3 separate regions of the Homo sapiens genome follow, and all the other regions are linked to region 2. The links are contacts of gene promoters, found by promoter capture Hi-C in human tissues and cell types (Jung and others, 2019). All regions are on one chromosome and are shown on one strand. The core of a region is centred on a gene start or on the middle of the fragment in contact, and the rest is flanking DNA. Distances in the headings are between cores, read along the strand shown. Region 1 holds the start of ZNF813 (zinc finger protein 813). Region 2 overlaps ZNF765-ZNF761 (ZNF765-ZNF761 readthrough). Region 3 holds the start of ZNF525 (zinc finger protein 525).

Evidence for each region. Contacts are between HindIII fragments. The study calls those that stand out against the background at their distance.
Region 1: the fragment with the promoter of ZNF813 here is called in contact with a fragment that was not itself captured in region 2 in 7 of the 25 tissues and cell types used here (H1 embryonic stem cells, adrenal gland, heart right ventricle and 4 more).
Region 3: a contact is called between the fragment with the promoter of ZNF525 here and a fragment that was not itself captured in region 2, in 2 of the 25 tissues and cell types used here (aorta and mesenchymal stem cells).

The regions. Positions count from the first base shown.
Region 1 is chr19:53,466,434-53,469,133 of GRCh38, forward strand. ZNF813 (zinc finger protein 813) reads left to right here and starts at 1,300. Exons shown (of 4, transcript NM_001004301.4): 1 at 1,300-1,356. RefSeq lists a silencer at 1,144-1,273 and enhancers at 1,344-1,583, 1,520-2,081, 2,082-2,644. The HindIII fragment of the contact is 7,979 bases long and covers 1-2,700 here.
Region 2 is chr19:53,408,945-53,411,644 of GRCh38, forward strand. The region is part of intron 3 of ZNF765-ZNF761 (ZNF765-ZNF761 readthrough); the gene reads left to right. It overlaps ZNF765 (zinc finger protein 765), which reads left to right. Exons shown (of 4, transcript NM_001040185.3): 4 at 1-2,700. The coding sequence ends at 183. It also overlaps the pseudogene LOC124904793. Among named protein-coding and RNA genes, the nearest start is that of ZNF765-ZNF761, 15 kb to the left of the region's middle. The HindIII fragment of the contact is 3,821 bases long and covers 1-2,700 here.
Region 3 is chr19:53,364,255-53,366,954 of GRCh38, forward strand. It overlaps ZNF525 (zinc finger protein 525), which reads left to right and starts at 1,451. Exons shown (of 4, transcript NM_001348156.2): 1 at 1,451-1,505. RefSeq lists silencers at 1,339-1,388, 1,789-1,848 and an enhancer at 1,499-1,748. The HindIII fragment of the contact is 12,378 bases long and covers 1-2,700 here.

The DNA.
Region 1 (2,700 bases), core at 50-2,549, 57 kb after region 2:
TTTATCTTGAAAACATGTACTTAATGGGTTGTATAGAACAGTGAAGTTTCTTTCTCTCTTTTCAACCTCTTAGCTGTTTGTCTATTTCGCATCATAATCTGGCCTAAGGCTTATTTATTAATGAAATGGTTTTAATTTCTTTCTCTATTGTCGTCGTGGAGATGATTTCTCATTGGGGGGAAGACTTTTTGTTTGTTTTCAATTATGTTTTCTCAACAATTGGAAAGTGAAGTAAAAAGTATTTGTTGGGCCAGGTGCAGTGGCTCACGCCTGTAATGCCAGCACTTTGGGAGGCCGAGGCAGGCGGATCACTTGAAGTCAAGAGTTTGAGACCAGCCTGGCCAACATGGTGAAACCCGTCTACAAAAATACAAAAATTAGCCAGGCATGGTGGCACGCGAATGTAATGGCAGGTACTCCGGAGGCTGAGGCAGGGGAATCGCTTGAACCCAAGAGGGAAGAGGCTGCAGTGAACCGAGATCCCGTTACTGCCCTCTAGCCTGGGCGACAGAGAAATACTCTGTCTCAAAAGAAATAAGTAAATAAATAAAGTAATAAATCTCTTCCACAAACGTGCTGAGACAACTAACTGAATATCCAGATGGAAAAGAATACTGTTGGATCCCTATCTCACACAATCAAAATTGTATTTTAAAACATTAAAAAAAAAAAAGGAAAAAAAGAGACGAGGAAGGAAGCGCTGCGGGAGGGGGTGTTACTTTGTCGCTCAGGCTGGCCTGGACCCCCAGGCTCAGCGATCCTCCCGCCGCTGCTTCCTGAGTAGCTGGGACCTCAGGCTCCTGCCCCCGCGCGCGCATCCCTCCCACCCCGGCGCCCCATCCAGCAGGTGGTCACCTCACTCCTCCCTGGCCTGAGCACTCCGTCCCGCATCCATGGCGGTGGCTTTAGGGAAATCTCTGAAGTTGAGCACGGGGTGGACTTGCCCTCCTGAGTGAATGGAGAATAGAAAGGGGGAGGATTTCTATTTTGTTTTGTGGGCCGTCAGCATGAAATCGTACCTTCCGCCCAGGCAGGGCTTTGCATTTCACATTCTAGTTTGCATCCCCGTTCCAGACAATTCCAGGGCTTTTGAATAGTGCCTCAACCTTACTGGCCGGTCTCGACTCCAAAACCCTAAAACAGGCGCTGGAGCGAGGGTGACGGACTCACAGGTCCCACCCCGGCCCCGCCCTCTGCGCCTTCCAAAGGGCAAAGTCTCTCCGCCTCTCGCCCCGCCCCTGCTTCGTCAGGCCCCGCCCACCTCCCAGGTCCCGCCCAGGCCTGGCTTCTGTCCTGCGCGCAGATTCGCGAAAACCCGGAAGCGGATCGCGTGGAGTGACGGTCCCACGGCAGCGCGTGAGTTTGGCTCTGTGTTGTATTAGGTCTGCACTTCCCAGGTCCCTGGCGCTTCTGTACCTGGGGCGTGGGGTCCCCACAAACCTGGAAATTCTCAGCCGTCTTCCTTCACCCAGAGCAAATTGAGACGACCCCGTGAGAGTCCGGGGGTCGCTTCCTTTTGTGTTTAAGGTCGCCCTGAGGCTGGTCCCGTCCCGGGTCTTTCTGCTATAGGGCAATGTATACACTTTCTATCGCGCATTTTTCCTGCTCTAAACCTTTCTCTGACTCCTCCCACCCCGCGCTTTTTGAAGTCCTCACCCAAGGGGTGGATTCTCGCCCACTTCGGCCGGTGGAGCGCAGAACCGCGGCCCCAGTCCCGGGAAGGCCGCGTCCTCTGTCTGGTCCCGGGATCCTGCAGACCCCACCCTTGTCTTAAGGCGCCCTCGCGCCCCCCCCCCCCCACCTCCCTCCTCCTGCCGGGCCCTGCTGCTTCCTAGGTCTCCCCTCCGCAGTCACGGCTTCCCCTGAGCCCACGTTGGGGAGGTGCCCGGGGCTTGTCCTGTTGAAGGAGGCCAGCCCTTCCACACCTGTGGGTATTTCTCGTCAGGTGGGAAGAGAGACTGAGAAAAGAAATAAGACACAAAGACAAAGTATAGAGAAAGGACAGTGGGCCCAGGGGACCGGCGCTCAGCATACGGAGGACCGGCACCAGTGCCAGCCTCTGAGTTCCCTCAGTATTTATTGATCATTATTTTTACTGTCCTAGTGAGGGGAGTGTAGCAGGGCAACAGGTGGGGAGAGGTCAGCAAGAAAACATGTGAGCAAAGGAATCTATATCATGAATAAGTTCAAGGAAAGGTACTGTGCCCAGATGTGCACGTAGGCTAGATTTATGTTTCTCTTCACCCAAACATCTCAGTGTAGCAAAGAGTCACAGAGCAGTATTGCTGCCAGCATATCTCGCCTCCAGCCACAGGGCGGTTTTCTCCTATCTCAGAATAGAACGAATGGAAATGGTCAGCTTTACACCTAGACATTCCATTCCCAGGGACCAGCAGGAGACAGAAGTCTTCCTCTTATCTCAACTGCAAAGAGGCCTTCCTCTTTCACTACTCCTCCTCAGCACAGACTCTTTACGGGTGTCCGGCTGGGGGATGTAAGGTCTTTCCTTTCCCACGAGGCCATATCTCAGGCTGTCTCAGTGGGGGGAAACTTGGACAATACCCAGGCTTTCTAGGGCAGAGGTCCCTGCGGCTTTCCGCAGTGCATTGTGTCCCTGGTTAACTGAGAATGGAGAATGGCGATGACTTTTACCAAGCATACTGCCTGCAAACATATTGTTAACAAGGCACACCCTGCACA
Region 2 (2,700 bases), core at 201-2,700:
AATCCTTACAAGTGTAATGAGTGTGGCAAGACCTTCAGCCGGACGTCATCCCTTACATACCATCATAGACTTCATACTGGACAGAAACCTTACAAATGTGAAGATTGTGATGAAGCTTTCAGTTTCAAATCAAACCTTGAAAGACATAGGAGAATTTATACTGGAGAGAAACTACACGTGTAATGAGTGTGGTAAGACCTTCAATCAGGAGTTAACCCTTACATGCCATCGTAGGCTTCATAGTGGAGAGAAACCTTACAAATATGAAGAACTTGACAAAGCTTACAATTTCAAATCAAACCTTGAAATACATCAGAAAATTCGTACTGAAGAGAATCTTACAAGTGTAATGAGTGTGGCAAGACCTTGAGTCATACGTCATCTTTTGTGTACCATCATAAACTTCATAGTGGAGAGACCTTACAAATGTGAAGAATGTGAAGAAGCTTTCTGTTTCAAATCCAACCTTGAAAGACATAGGAGAATTCACACTGGTGAGAAACCTTACAGGTGTAATGAGTGTGGCAAGACCTTCAGCCAGACCTCATCCCTTACATGCCATTGTAGACTTCGTACTGGAGAGAAACCTTACAAATGTGAAGAATTTGAGTTTTCCATTTCAAATCAAACCTTGAAAGACAAAGGAGAATTCATACTGGAGAGAAACCATACAAGTGTAATGAGTGTGGCAAGACCTTTAGTCAGAACTCATACCTTACACGCCATCGTAGACTTCATACTGGAGGATACCTTACAAATGTAATGAGTGTGGCAAGACCTTTAGTCAGAACTCATACCTTACATGCCATCATAGACTTCATACTGGAGAGATACCTTAAAAGTGTAGTGAGTGTGGCAAGACCTTTAGTCTGAAGTCATACCTTACGCACCATCGTAGACTTCATACTGGAGAGGTACCTTACAAGGATAATGAGTGTAGAAAAACCTTTCATGGGCAGTCAGCATTTTACAAATGTAATGATTGTCACCAAGTCTTGAGTAATGCTACAACTATTGCAAATCATTGGAGAATCCATAATGAAGAGAGATCCTACAAGTGTGATAAATGCAGAATAAATGCAGAAAATTTTTCAGACATCCTTCATACCTTTGCAGTTCATGGGTGAAGTCGTATTAGAAACCTTACAAATGTGAAGAATGTGATGAAGCTTTCAGATTCAAATCAAACCTTGATAGTCATAGAATTCATACTAGAGAGAAACCTTAGCAGTGTAATGAACGTGGCAAGGTTTTAAATCAAAAAGCAAAGCTTGCACATCATCATAGAATTCATACTGGAGATAAACGTTACAAATGTGAAGCATGTGACAAAGTTTACAGTCGCAAATCAAGCCTCCAAAGACAGGAGAATTCATACTGGAGAGAAAGCTTACATATGTGAAGAATGTCACCAAGTTTTCAGTCACACTCAAACCTTGAAAGACACAGGAGAATTCCTACTGGAGAGATAGCATAAAAATGTAAGAGTTTGTGACAAGGCTTTCAGGCATAATTCGCACCTGGCACAACATCCTAGAATTCACATTGGAGAGAAAGCTTACAAGTATAATGAATGTGACAGGTCTTTAGTGGGCAGTCAACACTTGTTTACCATCAGGCAATCCATGGTGTAGGGAAACTTTACTTATGTAATGATTGTCACAAAGTCTTCAGTTACACTACAACCATTGCGAATCATTGGAGAATCCATAATGAAGAGAGATCATACTAGTTTAATAAATTTGGCAAATTTTTCAGACATTGTTCATAACTTGCAGTTCATCGGCGAACTCGTACTGGAGAGAAACCTTACAAATGTCATGATTGTGACAAGGTCTCAGTCAAGCTTCATTCTATGCAAAACATAGGAGAATTCATACAGGAGAGAAACCTCACAAGTGTGATGATTGCGGCAAAGCCTTTAATTCACATTCACACCTCACTAGACATCAGAGAATGCATACTGGACAGAAATCTTATAAATGTCATCAGTGTGCCAAAGTCTTCAGTCTGAGCTCACTCCTTGCAGGATATCAGAAAATTCATTTTGGAGATAGTTGTTCCAAATACAATGTGTATAGCAAACCATCAAGCATTAATTGACACTAGAGTCAGTTCAGCATTGACTTGAGTTTGACTTAACATTGAGTTGAAGCCTTAATTGACATTAAAGTGTTTATGTTAAGAGGACTGGGCCAGGCACAGTGGCTCACACCTGTAATCTGAGCGCTTTGGGAGGCCAGCACCGGTAGATCACTTGAGTTCAGGAGTTTGAGGTCAGCCTGGCCAACAGACGTGAGCCATTTTCCCAGCCTGTTTTTTGTTTCTTTAACAAAAACTGATAGGGATTTTTTTTTTTTTTTTTGAGATGGAGTTTCACTCTTGTTGCCCAGGCTGGACTGCAATGGAGCGATCCCAGCTCACTACAACCTCCGCCTCCCAGGTTCAAGCAATTCTCCTGCCTCAGCCTCCAGAGTAGCTAGGATTACAGGCATGAGCCACCACGCCCAGCTAATTTTGTATTTTTAGTAGAGATGGGGTTTCTCCATGTTGGTTAGGCTGGTCTTGAACTCCCAGCCTCAGATGATCCACCCACCTCGGCCTCCCAAAGTGCTGGGATTACAGGCGTGAGCCACTGCGCCCAGCCCCAGTGATAAGGATTTTTATGGGTACCGTGTTGAATCTAAATCACATTGGGTT
Region 3 (2,700 bases), core at 201-2,700, 45 kb before region 2:
GAGGCCTCTTTGCAGTCAAGATAAGAGGAAGGCTTCTGTCTCCTGCTCATTTCTGGGAATGGAATGCCTCGGTGTAAAGCCGACCATTCATTCTATTCTGAGGTAGGAGAAAACCGCCCTGTGGTTGGAGGTGAGACATGCTGGCAGCAATACTGCTCTGTGACTCTTTGCTACACTGAGATGTTTGTGTGAAGAGAAACATAAATCTAGCCTACGTGCACATCCAGGCACAGTACCTTTCCTTGAACTTATTCATGACACAGATTCCTTTGCTCACGTTTCCCTGCTGACCTTCTCGCCACCATCACCCTGTTGCCCTGCCACACTCCCCTCACAAAGATAGTAAAAATAGTGATCAATAAATACTGAGGGAACTCAGAGACCAGCGCCGGTGCGGGTACTCGCACACTGAGCTCCGGTTGTCTGGGCCCACTGCTGTTTCTCTATACTTTGTCTCTGTGTCTTATTTCTTTTCTCAGTTTCTCATCTCCACCTGATGAGAAACACCCGCAGGTGTGGAGGGGCAGGCCCCCTTCAGGCTGAGGCAGGGGAATCACTTGAACCCAGGAAGCAGAGGCTTGCAGTGAGTCGAGATCCCACCACTGCACTGCAGCCTGGATGACAGAGAAATACTCTGTCTCAAAACAAAAGAAAAGAAATAAGTAAATACATAAAAGAAAGTAACAGATCTCTTCCACAAATGTGGAATGGACAACTAACTGGATATCCACATGGAAAAGAACAATGTTGGATCCCTATCTCATACAATCAACCTCTTATTTTAAAACGTAAAAAAAAAACAACGAAAAATAAAGAGAGAAAGAGAGAAACGAGGAAGGGAGCCCTGCGGGAGGGGGTGTTACTTTGTCGCCCAGGCTGGCCTGGACCCCCAGGTTCAGCGATCCTCCCGCCCTGCTTCCTGAGTAGATGGGACCTCAGGCTCCCGCGCCCGCGTCCGCATCCTTGCTGTGTTTATCCGGCAGGTGGTGACCTCACTCCTCGCTGGCCTGAGCACTCCGTCCAGCATCCCAGGCGGTGGCTTTAGGGAAGTCTCTGCAGCTGAGCACAGGGTGGACTCTCCCTCCGGAGTGAATGGAGAATAGAAAGGGAGAGGATTTCTATTCTATTCTCTGGGCCGTCAGCATGACATTGTAAGTTCTGCCCAAGCAGGGCTTTGCATTTCACATTCTACTTTGCATCCGCGTTTCAGACAATTCCAGGGCTTTTGAATCATGGATCGGCCTTCCTGGCCATCTCGCCTCCAAAACCCAAAAACAGAGGCGGTGGGAGGGAGGCTGAGAGACGCACAGATCCCGCCCCAGCCCAGCCCCGCCCCGCCCTCTGCCGGTACTAAAGGGCAAGGTCTCTCCGCCTCTACCCCTACCTGGCCCAGGCCCCGCCCACCTCCTCGCAGGCCCCGCCCAGGCCTGGCTTCTGTCCTTCCCCGCTCAGACGCGCGCAAACCCGGAAGCAGATCGCGTGGAGTGAAGGTCCCTCAGCGGCGCGTGAGTTTCGCTCCATCTTGTATGAAGTCTGCTCTTCCCAGGTCCCCGGCGCTTCTGTCCCTGGGACGTGGGGTCCCTACAGACCTGGAAATTCTCACCCGTCTTCCTTCGCCCAGAGCAAATTGAGACGTCCCCGTGAGAGCCCGGGGGTCACTTCCTTTTGGGTTTAAAGTCTCCCTGAGGCTGGTCCCGTTCCGGATCTTTCTGCTATAGGGCAATATATACACTTTCTATCGCGTAGTTTTCCTGCTCTAAACCTTTTTCTGACTCCTCCCGCCCCGCGCTTTTTAAAGTCCTCACCCGAGAGGTGAATTCCCGCCCTGGGCGCCTCCCAGCCTCGCCCTCGTCGGCCCCTAGAGCGCAGCGTCGCAGCTCCGGTCCCGGGGAGGCCGAGTTCTCTGCCTGTCCTGGGATCCTACAAACCCCACCCTTGTCTTAAGGCGCCGTCGCCCCCCACGTCCCTCCTCATGCCGGGCCCTGCTGCTCCCCAGGTCTCCCATCCGCAGTCACAGCTTGCCCTGAGCCTGCGTTAGGGGAGGTGCCCGGGTTCTGTCCTGTGACACGGGGTGTTCTTGCCTGCCCAGTTCCAGCCCCTGGAAAATAAGCTCCTCCGGGATGCAGGCGTCTTACTCCAAACCCTCCTGTGATTGTGTGGGCCAAAGGGATCGGGAGACAGACAGCAGTAGAAAACCTGAGACAGAGAAAAGAAGAATGAGAAAGGCCCATAACAGATGGCAAAGTAGAGGATGGGTGAGGGATTTGCCAAGAGACAGCAAAAGTGAAAAAAAAAAAAAAAAAGATAAGCAGGAGGAGAAAAGCAACTAGAGAAATGTAGAGAAAAGCTAGATGTACAGAGAGATGAAGGACAGCAAGGTAGGGAGAGGGACAGCAAAGAGGGAGGCTCATCAGGGTGAGGGAGAGGAGGAGGGATTTGGAGCCAGGGCAGACAGAGCAGAGTGGTGCTGGTGGCAAAGAGAACAGAGGGAGAACCACAGCAGGGAGGACACCTGGGGATCTGGGGTGCCAGAGAGTGGGGACAGGGGGTATAACAGAGAAGAGAGAATTTAACGGGGAGAGCAGAGGAGGCGCAGAGATGGTGTTGCGGGAAACTGAGGACTAGAGAGACTGATATGGGGGAGACAGGAGGATGTTTATTTAAGGTACACAGCGGCTCAGCAGATTTACATCTAAAAAG